Regions from separate parts of the Homo sapiens genome. Here region 2 is linked to region 1. The links are contacts of gene promoters, found by promoter capture Hi-C in human tissues and cell types (Jung and others, 2019). All regions are on one chromosome and are shown on one strand. Each heading gives the region's core, a stretch centred on a gene start or on the middle of the fragment in contact. The rest is flanking DNA. Distances are from core to core; before and after follow the strand shown. Region 1 holds the start of PDE5A (phosphodiesterase 5A). Region 2 overlaps NDNF-AS1 (NDNF antisense RNA 1).

What was found. Contacts are between HindIII fragments. The study calls those that stand out against the background at their distance.
Region 2: a contact is called between a fragment that was not itself captured here and the fragment with the promoter of PDE5A in region 1, in 1 of the 25 tissues and cell types used here (dorsolateral prefrontal cortex).

Annotation. Positions count from the first base shown.
Region 1 is chr4:119,626,831-119,633,438 of GRCh38, forward strand. It overlaps PDE5A (phosphodiesterase 5A), which reads right to left and starts at 1,974. Exons shown (of 21, transcript NM_001083.4): 1 at 1,690-1,974. The coding sequence starts at 1,841. LOC107986192 (a long non-coding RNA gene) reads left to right here and starts at 960. Exons shown (of 1, transcript NR_165235.1): 1 at 960-3,925. RefSeq lists silencers at 408-687, 1,908-2,307 and an enhancer at 818-867. The HindIII fragment of the contact is 10,592 bases long and covers 1-6,608 here.
Region 2 is chr4:121,079,953-121,085,681 of GRCh38, forward strand. NDNF-AS1 (NDNF antisense RNA 1) reads left to right here. Exons shown (of 3, transcript NR_187407.1): 3 at 171-1,787. Among named protein-coding and RNA genes, the nearest start is that of NDNF, 10 kb to the left of the region's middle. The HindIII fragment of the contact is 4,542 bases long and covers 1-3,897 here.

The DNA of each region.
Region 1 (6,608 bases), core at 724-3,223:
TTGAAAAGATTAATCCCGGAGCCTTCCCCTCTGTCAAAAAACCCTGAAAGTGACTAAATTGACACCAACTCTGGATGTTCCTTAGGAAAAAAACAAAACAAAACAAAACAAAACAAGATTAAAAAGGGCCCAATTTAAGACCCTTATTAATACATCTGCAAGAGAGCAAAGAATAACAACAACAACAAAAGTTATACAGTCAATTTTCAATGATACATCGTCCCACTGGTGCCACCGGGGCGCCACCACCCAGCACCCGAGACCCGCCGCGCCCCCGGAAAAAGTGGGAAGGGACGTAGGGGGATGCTGAAGGAAGTACCTTGTTTTGTCTCCAAAGGGCAACATAGCAAACGTGGGAAGTTCGTTTTCGAACTCCGCCGATCCTGGACTCCAGGAGGCTCCGTAGGGGCAACAACGCGCGCAGGTGAGGTGAGGTGAGGTCGGCGACTCAGAACCAGCTCCCTCACGGCCCCGGCCTCCGCGCCGCCGCCCGTCGCCTCCCGCTCGCCCCGCGCTGCGCCGCCCCCTGGCGGGGAGCGACCGGCAGAGCCGCGGCCGCGCGCCGGCGAGTGGGACCCGGGCGTCGAACCCGGGCGGGCTCCTCGACCATCACTGCCGGGCGTGTGTCACCCTCCCGGCCAAGACGGCCAGCACCCGCTGCCCGACGGCCGCTGCCCAGAGCAGGCGGCAGCGGGGCACGGACTCTTTCTGCAAAGGGGCGCGTCCTGGAGTCCACGCACCCCGACTATGCATCAATTCCTCAGGCTTCGGGGCACCCGCCCGCCAAGCACTCTCTGCTCCACTCTTCTTGTCCCTCTGCTCCCAGTCTCAATTCCTCCCCAACTCTCCCGCGAGCGTTTCCCACGAGCGCCCCGACTGCCCGCTGCGCAGCCGCCTCCAAAAGGACAGGCTCCCTCCTCCCCGCCCTCCGCAAGGGCCGCCCCGGCGCTTGGCTCTGGACCAGAAAGAGCTGGCCTCTGGGGTCTGCGCTGCCCCTTGGGGTCCGCTCCAGGCGGCGCCTCCCCTGCGCCCTTTGTGTGCACGCCGCAAACCCCTCTGCAGAGCTCTACTTTTGGCGGCACAGCCTTCGGCGGAAAAGCGAGTGAAAGGAGGCGCGCGGGACAAGCAGGAGACTGGAAGGGGGGAAAAGGCAACCGCACTCACTTTGGCAAGGTTCCGTCATGTTGCCTTTGGGCTGTCCCGTGGACTCGTCCCTCACCCCAGCTTCCCCGCCCAGCCAGGGCCAGGGCGAGGGGGGACGGGGGAGGAGCGGAGCCATCAAGACCGACTTGGAAATGGTGCTTCCGGAGCTGCAGGGAAGGGGCTCAGAAACTGTTTGGGTTTTGCTGATTGGATTTTGGGGAACCAGAGGGCTAGAGAGGGGCTAGGGGAAGGCCCGTGAGCACGGATGTATGAAAATAATCATGTTCCCGGGGAATACCAAGAGGGTCGGGGGTGAGGGTGGGAGGTCGGCAAGTACATTTTTGTATTTGAACTTTGTGAGCAAGTTGTATCAAATCCGACACTTGAGTTTTTCGACTGTGCTCGCTTAGAGTTGAGGTTTCTACCTCGTAACAGGACCGAGGACCTACTTCAAAAGCAAAGGGCCTGGGAACAGGGGTGAACGAAGGGCACAATTCAACAGGGGAGAGAAATCAGCCCCGGGTCTTCCGTGGGTCCTCTTCTTACCTGGTGGCTTTTCTAACAAAGTATGAGAAGGTAAAGTCCCAGTGATCGTCCAGCCATGCTTCGACCGAGTCCTGATCCCTCTGCTGCTGCTTCTGCTGCTGGGGCTGCTGCTGCTGTCGCTGCTGCCCGAAGCTGGGGCCGGCCCGCTCCATGGTTGGCACCGCGCGCCTCGGAGGCTCTCTGGTACTGCTTTTCCACCCCAGCTGGGGTCCGTCCCTCAGAAGAACAGGACTCGGCCTCGAGACCCTCCCCCTTCGTCCTGCTCCAGTCGGGCCGGCTTTCGACAAAGCGGCCGGAGCGCCAGGCCAGCCTCCTGCCCCGCCCCGCCCCGCGCGGTTCTACGGGCGCCCAGGTGTGGTGGGCGGGGCCAGGCGCAGCTGCTGCGCCCCCCCCACCCGGGGTCCGGCAGTGTTCCGCTCTCGCAGGCTCTTCAGTCCCCTGGTTCCCAGGAGGCGGCGGCGGCGGCGGCAGCGGCAGCGCCCGGCGAGCTCTCCGGAAGCCAAGTGGCGGCGGCTGGAAGGAGGCCGCGCGGCCGCTGGGGTGCGCTGTGTGCCAAGCCGACTTCTGGGGAGCGCGCTAGGTGACTGGGTGTGTTCTCAGAGTGCCCCAGGGAGGGAAGGTCGCGATGTGGGAAGTTTTGCCCGAAAGTAAGAGATGATGAGACCCTGGGCCCTTTTCCTGGGGCCTGGGAGTGCAATGACCTTCCCGCCTAGCTTTTCCCTAGCCCTACGCTTGGGTCTGGGAGGAGCGGGACCGACCTCCTTCAGAGCCCAGCCCGCTCAGTGACTTAAAGCGGTCCAGCCACGGACCACTGCGGGTGGAGAGAGCTGGGGCGTGTGCTAGCAAGAGAGATTTGCAGGTGTAGGTGGGTAACTTGCAACAAAGCCATACCCGTGCTTAATGTTAATGATAACAGCAATAATTATAACTTAAGTGCCTTTAACCATTGCCTCAAACTTCCCTTATGCATAACTGGAAAAAGATTTACTTGGAAAAGAAAAAGCAAACAAATAATTTCCAATGCTTTGTGCATGAAGTTAGAAAACAAGGGCACCTCTGTACAATTAGGTTAATCCGAGAGCACTGGCGCAACCCAGGTGCAGTCGAGGGCAACCAGTTATCCCAATTTTAAATTAATGCATCATTTTAATTAAATTGGAATTAACACTCCCTCAAAAGTATCCATTAAAAATGGCTCAGCCTTTTTGTCCAATCCCTATCTTGCTTCTTTAAAAAAGGAATTGGTGTCATCCTTTGCTTTGTCTGCATCCCCATCTTCCTGTCATGCATTGGCAGTTTTAATATGGCATTTTGCAATGACCTATATTTTTTGGTAGAATTAAATCTGGAATTATGGGTTGCACAATGTGTGAATGACACCATTAGCAGTGATATAAAAAAAAATGAGTTAGCTGATATACTTCTGACAACTTCCTTCTAAATACTCTTGGCAAGAATTTAAGGCATTATTCACTACATAGAAACACATCATTAAATTGATAATCTGAGAACTTTTAAAAGTATCTTCTAGTCCCCCAATGCAATGGTTTATCTTTCCTTCATTGAGTAATTGACCTTTTGCGACTTCAGTTTTTCTGAAACTTTACTGCTGTATGCAGGTAGCCACAACCAAAGAAAAGCAATCAAAGCAGTAGAGTATGAACTAATGGGTGATAAATTATATTGGATTTAGAAATGAGAATTCTCTCCTAATGTGTTACTATGATAGTGATTATAGTGCTCATGGAATACAGTCATGCGTCACCGAACAACAGGATACATTCTGAGAAATGTATCCTTAGGCAATTTCATCCTTCTCTGAACATCACAGTGTACTAACACAAAATAGATGGCTCAGCCTACTACACACTTAGGCTATTGCTCCTAGACCACAAATCTATACAGCATATTACTGTACTGAATACTGTAGGCAATTGTAATGCAATGATATTTGTGTGTCTAAACATATCTAAACATAGAAAAGGTACAGTAAAAATATAGTATTATCTTATGGGACTCATATATGTGGTCTGTCGTTGACTGAAAAGTGGCACATTACTGTGGAAAGTTTCTCCTCAGTACAGTTTTTTCTTGTGGAAATCCATGCATTCCTCCTAACAGGAGATCAATCGTAATTTAAAACTCTGCTTATCTACTAAAGATGCAGTGAATTTGGGGCTTGAATTATTTGCTTTTGTTGGATACTTGATTAAATAAACACGTATAATCATTTCAATGTTTGTATTCCCTCCAAAATTCATGTTGAAACTTAATCCCTAATTCAACAGTATTAAGAGGAGGTGCCTTTAAGTGGTGATTAGACCATTAGGGCTCTGCCTTTGTGAATGCATTAGTGCCTTTTTAAAAAAAGGCCCAAAGGAGACAGTTGGCCCCTTCTATTCTTTCCACTATGTGAAGACACAGCACTGACCCTTGCTGAGGATGCAGCAACAAGGTGCCATTTTGTAAGCAAAGAGCAGCCCTCACCAGTTGCCAAATCTGCTGGCACTTTGATTTTGGAGTTTCCAGCCTCCAGAACTGAGAGAAATTAATTTCTATTGTTTATAAATATCCCAGTCTGTGATATTTTATTACAGCAACACAAATGGACTAAGACAGTGGGTAATATCAAAATGTTCATTTTTCTCTCCTAACCTGAAAGGGTTAAATTATCAGAAACCAGGAAGGTTTCTGAAAAATTGCTTCAAGAAAAACAATCTATAGGCTGGGCACAGTGGCTCATTCCTGTAATCTCAGAACTTTGGGAGGGAGAGGTAGAAGGATACTTGAGCTCAGGAGTTTGAACCAGCCTGGGCCACATGGCATGACCCCATCTCTACACAAAATTTTTAAAAATTAGCCAGGCATGGGGGAACACACCTGTAATCCTAGTTATTCGAGAGGCTGAGGCAAGAGGATTGAGCCCAGGAGGTCAAGGCTGCAGTGAGCCATGATCGTGCCATTGCACTTCAGCCTCAGTGACAGTGTAAGACCCCCGGCTCTATAACAAAAAAGAAAAAAAAAGAAAAACAGTACATAGATTCTCTCAATAGTGAATCTCAAGTCTGTGTGGTATATATGATAGTTTGGGAGTTACTGTGAAGGCCTATTACCTGAGAAACATATCACAAGGGATTGGGGAACAGAAGTGTCTCAAACAGTTCTAGTCTCTGGGAGATTCAGCCAAAATGTGTAACTATACCTCCTGTAAATTTAAAGTAGTTAAAGGTAAGCATATTTTGAACTGACATTACCTGGGCCTCTTGTTTTTCAACTCCATTTTATTCTTTATCCCAATTTGCCCAATTATTTTGTTTTAACTTGGCATGAATTGTTCTAAGCACCTCAAATCTTGTTATGGAATTAGTTGAAGAATAAGTAAATCATAAACACTCCCAGGATATAACTTGAAAAATGCTGTTAATGCTATTTATAACAAACAAATGAGCAATGATGTATGTATGTGTATATGTATGATATATATATGTGTGTATATGTATATATATATTTAATTTTTGTAAATGACCCAGTCTGTGGTATTTTGTTATTGCAACACAAGTGGACTAAGATATATATATATATATATATAAAATCAATGATATATATGTGTATATACATACATATATGTCATTGCTCATTTGTTGCTCATGAGCAACAGCTTAACTAAAGACCTTCAATGTATTCCCACTGTGCTAAAATAAAATTCAAACTCTGTAACGTGGCTTATGGGGTTCTACATTATTTGGTTGTTACCTACCTGTACTGCTAAAGATTTTGGTCATACAAATAGAAAAAACAAATGCAACAAAGCAAAAACACAAAAAAGAAATATAAGGCATAAAAATGAAAAAGTAAACATTCTCCATTTGCAGACATGAGTATCTATGAGGAATACCCAAAGGAATGCACAAAGCAACTACAAGAATTAAGAGGTGATTCAGCAAGCTTGCAGCATAAATGGTCAGTATACAAAAATCAATTGTATCTCTGTATACTAGTCTTATGGGCTGATTTGTTTCCCCAGATTCATATGTTGAAGCCCTAACCCCTAGTACCACAGAATGTGATTGTATTTGGAGATAGGGCCTTTAAAGAGGCAATCAAGGTTAGATGAGGTCATGAGAGTGGTCCCTAATCCAATCTGACTGGTGCCACTATAAGAAGAGGGAATTTGCACACACAAAAAAGTGACACCGGTGATACTCTCCCACAGAGGGATAACCGTGTGAAGAGGCAGCAAGAGAATGGCCATTTGCAAACCGAGGAGAGACACCTCCAAGGAATCCAACCTGCTGGCACCTTGATCTTGGACTTCTAGTCCCCAGCACAGTGGCAAGATCAATTTCTGTTATTTAAGCCACCCAGCGTGTGGTACTTTGTTACGGCAACACTAACAAACTAATACAACTAACAGTGAACAATTTGAAAACAATATTATTTATAATCGTGTAAAAAACATTAAATACTTAGGGATAAATTTGGCAAAATATACATAAGAAATATACACTAAAAGTTATAAAACATTACTGGGAGAAATGCAAAAAGACCTAAATAAATGGACAGATACATTCATTGATCGGCAGACTCAATATTATTATGATGTTTATTCTTTCCAAACCGAGCAATATGATCCCAATCGTATTTCAGCAGACATTTTCATGGAAAGCGAAAATCAGATAACAAATTTTCTATGGAAATGCAAGAGATACAGAATGGCAAAACAATATTGAAAAAGAATAAAACTAGAGAACTTATGCTACCTAGCTTTAAGATTTACTATAAAGCTATAATAATCAAGGCAGTATGGCATTTGCATATGGTTAGTCAAACAGAACCATAGAATAGAATAAAGAGTTTAGAAATATCATTTATACAACTAGTTGATTTTCAACAAAGGTACCAGTTATTCTTTAAATAAA
Region 2 (5,729 bases), core at 377-2,876, 1.5 Mb after region 1:
TACTTTGTAAGTGAAAAAATAAAACAAAAGGAATCACTTAGACCTTGCTTGTTAGGATGGCCAAAATGATTAATTTCAGGTTTGACAAAATGTAACAAATCAAAAACTCTTTCCTTTACAAATTTATTCCAAAAACAACCAGTGAAAAAGACATTATTTGCATTTCACAGATGAGAAAACGGAGGTTTATGGCCATCAGTGGCTGAGCAGGGATCGGAGTCTCATTCTGTCAAACTCTAAAGCCTGCGTTCTGAACCAACTCAAGCTGCCCCAGGATATTCCTTGGAGCCTCTATCAACTAATTTCACAGATTCTTTTTTTTTCCTTTTTGCTGCTGTCATGTTAATGGGCATTATTTAAAAAGGGATCTTACCACAGAATTTGATTTGGTGTCTCCTTGTTGACACCATATAAGAGCAAATCTAACCACATGTAGTGTTTTCACAAAAGTGTACCTATCCATCAATTCTAGCCACAAACCTCTAAGGTCAGAAATCTCAAAGATTAAGCCAGAGGGAGGTGGAATAGTCCAAACTGGTTTAGCTGCTTGAGTCTTCTCTTTTATTTGAAAATCACTTAAACTCTGTCATTGACACAGTATGAGTCCTTTCCTAAAGACATTTTAAAAACTAACTTCTCTATGAAAAGCAGTGAATAGGAGGGCTGACACAATTTTTAAAACTCTCAACATGTGCAGCTCATAAAAAGTAGGCATATGATTATATATACCTTTGATTCAACCAGTTTCTATTACAAGTAACCTGTGAACCCTAGAACTTAGTTATTTTTTTTTTTAAAAAAAAGGAGGGGAATCTCCACCTTAACCTTTTGGCCATTTAATCACTTATTTATTGAGTGGTTTCTAAGTGCCTGCTGTTGTCGCTCACTGCTTATTAGTCCTTGTGAGAGCAATCTTCAGTAGGAATTATTAGAATTCCCATTTTGGAGATGATGCTACTGAGGCTGTCAGAACTTGTCATATTTCTAGCCAAGAAATTTGAACCCAGGCAGTGCTTTCAGCTATTATACTCGCTCCTCCCCTTTTGAAATGGATTCAAGGTAGTCACTCACAAATGTGGAGAATAAACTGAAGAAAGAAATAATAAGCCAAGTCCAGTCATCTTAACAACCATTTTTAACTGTTTCCTAGTAGTTTGGCATATAAAAAAATTTCCCTCGAGAAAATAAAACTTTAGTAGAATAGCATTATTTTAAAATTATGTTAAGCTTTTCAGTGTGTGTTATCAGACTCAAATGTATTAAATTCCTTATTGGATTAGACCAGTTAACACTGGATTTTGTCACATTTCTACTTTTGAATACCACATCTAGGAAAGAAATGTGTTAATATTTACTTCATTGTGCCAAATCAGATTCTATTGTAAAACTAGATCAAAAATGAATCACTACACTATAAAATGCAAAAATCTGTACGTGGATTGTAAAGAGAAACAGGGACTGTTCTCATTTTCTGGCGCAACTTCTCAACCCTCATTATGCTCTGTTGTAGAAAAAATGCATTATTTCCGGTCATTTAAAAGAAGTAGGGCCATTTTTTCTAGAAAATAAATGGTAATTGAATCACTGAAATGATTTTGGGAAAACAGTTTCCATACCAATAGTGTCTAATGTAACTCTGAAAACTCTTGGTGTTATAAAGGAAAAATTTGAATTTTTCTAATGTAAGCTTAAATGTACCCAGTCGAAATCCTCTCCATTCCTTCCATGTAATCCTTCAATGTTTTCTTGTCCAAAAAGTATAACCAAACATAGAGCCTTGAATATTTCTCTTTTGTCTCCATAGCATTTTATCCATAGCTCTCTCTATTTCTAAGACCATAATTTCTATTAATGTGATAATCATAGTGGTATTCTGTCACTTTCAATCGCCTAGCTGAAACTACTCAGTGAAACTCTGAGGGAATTCCTATTTTGAAGAAACTGCAAATTTAGAGGGTGGACTTTTTTTTTTTTTTTTTTTTTTTTGCAATTAGAAGAAGAGAATAACATAATGAAAATTCAAATAGGCTTGAAACTCAAAGGTCATTTGAAACACTAAACTCAAAAGAACTCATTTGTACATCTGTCAAAACATGAGAAAATCACTCTGATTTTGAAAGGACTTTTCAAAGACCTTATCTATGTGGGAAATTGCACACTGACCTGTAAGGAATATGTAATTTGTGTTAAACAGAGTCTCATTCAAAGACTAAGGATAATCTTATATCCAATCAATTTTAGACCAGAATTTTTGTAACTTATTTTGAGTAAGAATGTTCTTAAGGGAATCAGTCACACAAATCAAGTGGGACTCAAATGCCAAAAGAACTTCAAAAGCACTAGAAGTGTCTGGCTCCCTTTATCTTTACATCAGCAACACATTTACAAACCTTCTATTTGCTTCTCCTCTGGATTTCAAGGTAAGTGCAACAGGTCACAATGTAGAAGAAACACAATAAAATGAAGGATAAAGGCATTGAGTAAGAGGAGAAAAAGGAGAGAAAAGAGTGAAGAGAAAAGGAGACAGTGGTTAGGGCTTAAAATAGTGGTGGGATAATAATGACAGGTAAAATCATGAGGGTTAAGGATAATTAGTAAAGAGCATGGAGGCAGAGCATGCAAGAGATGAAGAAGGCAAGAAAATAATGAGAAGCAGTGTAAATGCACTAGAAGAGTTGAGAAATCTAAGGGAAAAAAGGGACAATATGTTACTCTGCACTAAAACTAGAAGTAATGCCAGAAAAGTGGGCTACATAGGGTACGAATTATAGAAAAATGGGAAAGGCTGAAGATGAAAGAGAAGTTCCCAGAGCAGTGAGATGAAAATGTTTTGCAATTTTCTACCACAATACATATTTAACATAAAAAAGCCACAACTTGTGTGATGAGAAAATATGAATAGAATGGAGAAGCACAATAATATTGATGGGGGGTAAGAGTAGCATATTTCCAAAATTACCATCTTGCTACTAGTTAGTTAGGAAAGCTTTAAAAAGCTGCTTGATTTTTTTCACTGGCAACAGAAAGCTGAAGCAGGGTGGATCTTAAAGTTAGAGGGATCCTTTTGGTGAAAGGAAATAAAGTGAATTGGATAGTGTATTTGTACCAAGTGAGACTTGAACCAATTTGCCTTAAAGCAGGATTCCCCAAAAGTTTTCTGTGTTTGAACACAGCCTCTACTATTACTCAGTTTAAGCTGTAGATCTTCTTTTAACTAAATAGCTTATTTAAAATTAACAACTTAAATAGTAATATCTGTTTTATGTGTGGGTTACATTTTTTTACCTCATACATATTATACAAAATATTTGCTATAGAACCACCTAAAATAATATCTAATTCTCTTCTTGTTTTGCATGCATGGGAAGTGTGATATTCCTAGGCTAATATGGAAGGCAGGAGGGATCTTGTCTTATCCTTCACAGTAGAGGGAAGCCCTGAAAGATTCTAAGGAGGGAAGAAATACAGTAGAGGAACGGGCAGTGTTTCCCAAGGCCTGCAATGGGGTAGGGCTGGAGAAGGGGGTGCAGAGATGAGGAAATGGTCTCTTGAGGCCTGGTATGGAGGCTGAGCACTGTCACTTCTGTCTCGTTTTATTGGTCTCACAAAGCAACTCACAAGCCTGGTTCAGATTCAAGAGGTGAGGAATCAGTCTCCACCCCTGATGAAAGGAACTGCAAAGAATTTGTGGCCATTTTTAACCCACCACAGCTCTATAATTACATGTTCAAAAGCTCAACAGACAGTCATTGACATAATTCAAAAGAGGTGATGTTAATTTGGAATGCCCCCAATTTCATGTACTTTTGAAGATATAATATGTGTAGAACTGAGCTTTACAGAATTAGGTCAGATAGAAAAGGAAGAAATCTACAGTTTTACTTTAATTCTTCCTTTCATTTCTCTTAGACCCTAACATAGGTATACACATTCACAGAAACACAAACAGCTACTGGGCTAGTGTGGGTTTCTTGTACTATCTTTGTTCATGTGAACTAGAACATTTTTATAATATGAATGAGAAGAACCAAATTAAAGGCCATCTTAATTTATTTTAACCTAAAGAAAACACACAATTTCTTGGTTTTGTATGGCATCTCTCAATGGGTGAAACGACTAATTCAAGCATCTGAACAGAAAAAAAATTCATTTAGGATAGCAGAATAGTTCCATTTTAGAGTGGAGATGGAGAAATGATTTATATTCCACTTAATTAATTCTTCATAAAAGTAATATGACAGTGTTTTGTTTAACTCTTCTAGCATATTGTTGTTCCCTCAAAAGTATACAAGACAATAATGTCAACATTCCATTAACCAATGTTTTAAGAAATGGGAAAGTTCACAGGTCTCTCTAAAACAACGTAGAACTTTTCATTTTTTTGTCTCATTGCTAGGGTTCAGGTTTTTTTTTTCTGTTTGTTCACCTGTTTTTTCAAAATCTGAACATGTATGAGGTTCCCTTTTGAATTTTATGTAACATTTTGTGCCCAGGGTTAAGCTATTTTCACTTAATTTTTAATGCGCTTCTCCCTACCCTGCTTTGTGGTGTTGGGGATAAACTCTACAAAACACATTTCTGTTTTGCCAGCTGCTCCTGTTAGGCTCTGCCAGTCAGCGATTATGGAGGGAGAATGCAAAGGTGGAGGAGAGACAAATAATGCATTTCTTCCTCAGTGCTTCCTAGTTTATTCCTACTTCTGTTTTTGCATCCTCTTCCTGTCTCCCTCAATGTAGCTATAGTTATTTACTTGGCAGTGGCAGTATTTTGTAGAAGCGGCTGTTGACTCCAGTTCACAGTTTTCCCAAGCTTTAGAACTAGCTTCATCACAGTCCCTCAGAGACGTCGGTGCCAATTTACCAGTGCCCTGTCCTCGAGGTAGAAGTTTGTTTTGCAGCTCGAAGGCAGTAACACTAGCCTACTCAGGGCCTCTTCCTCAGATACCAGTTTCAGCTCCACAGAGCCCGTCCATGGTTCTAACTCTAAGTTTCTAGGTTTTGACAATTCCACCTCTTCCCTTTGTGCTCCAGGACAGGGATTGTAATTGCTTTCTCAGTTGCTACCTCTGTTCCCATTTGCTTTTAGTTTTTGATAATTGGTTATATAAAACTCTCTCTGTTTAGATAACAGATATGGTTTCTCTCTTCTTTTATACAGGAAACAAAATACATATTGTTTCCTGTATAAAAGAAATTCAAATTTTTAGATTGGCTTTATTCTTATTGGTGAAATTTCATTCATAAAGTGACTAAAGATTCTACCAAACATTTAAAGAAGAATTAATGCCAATCCTTCTCAAAGTCTTCCAAAAAATTGAACAGGAGGTAACATTTCCAAATTCATTTTATGAGGCCAGCATTACTCTGATACCAAAGCCAGACAAAGGTACTGCCAGAAAAGTATAGGCTGATATTTTTGATGAACACAGATGTAAAAGCCCTCAGTAAAATTCAAGCAAAGCAAATTCAACAGCACAGGAAAAGGATTATAAACCATGATCAAATGGGAATTATCCCTGGGATGCAAGGATAGCTCAACATATACAAAGCAATAAATGTGATACAACACATTAACAGAATAAAGAATAAAAAACCATATGGTCATCTCAATAGATGTAGCAAAAGCATTTGATGAAATCCAACATCCTGTCATGATAAAATGCTCAACAAATTAGGTATTAGGAATGCACCTCAACAAAATAAAGGCCATTTATGACAAAGCTACAGCTA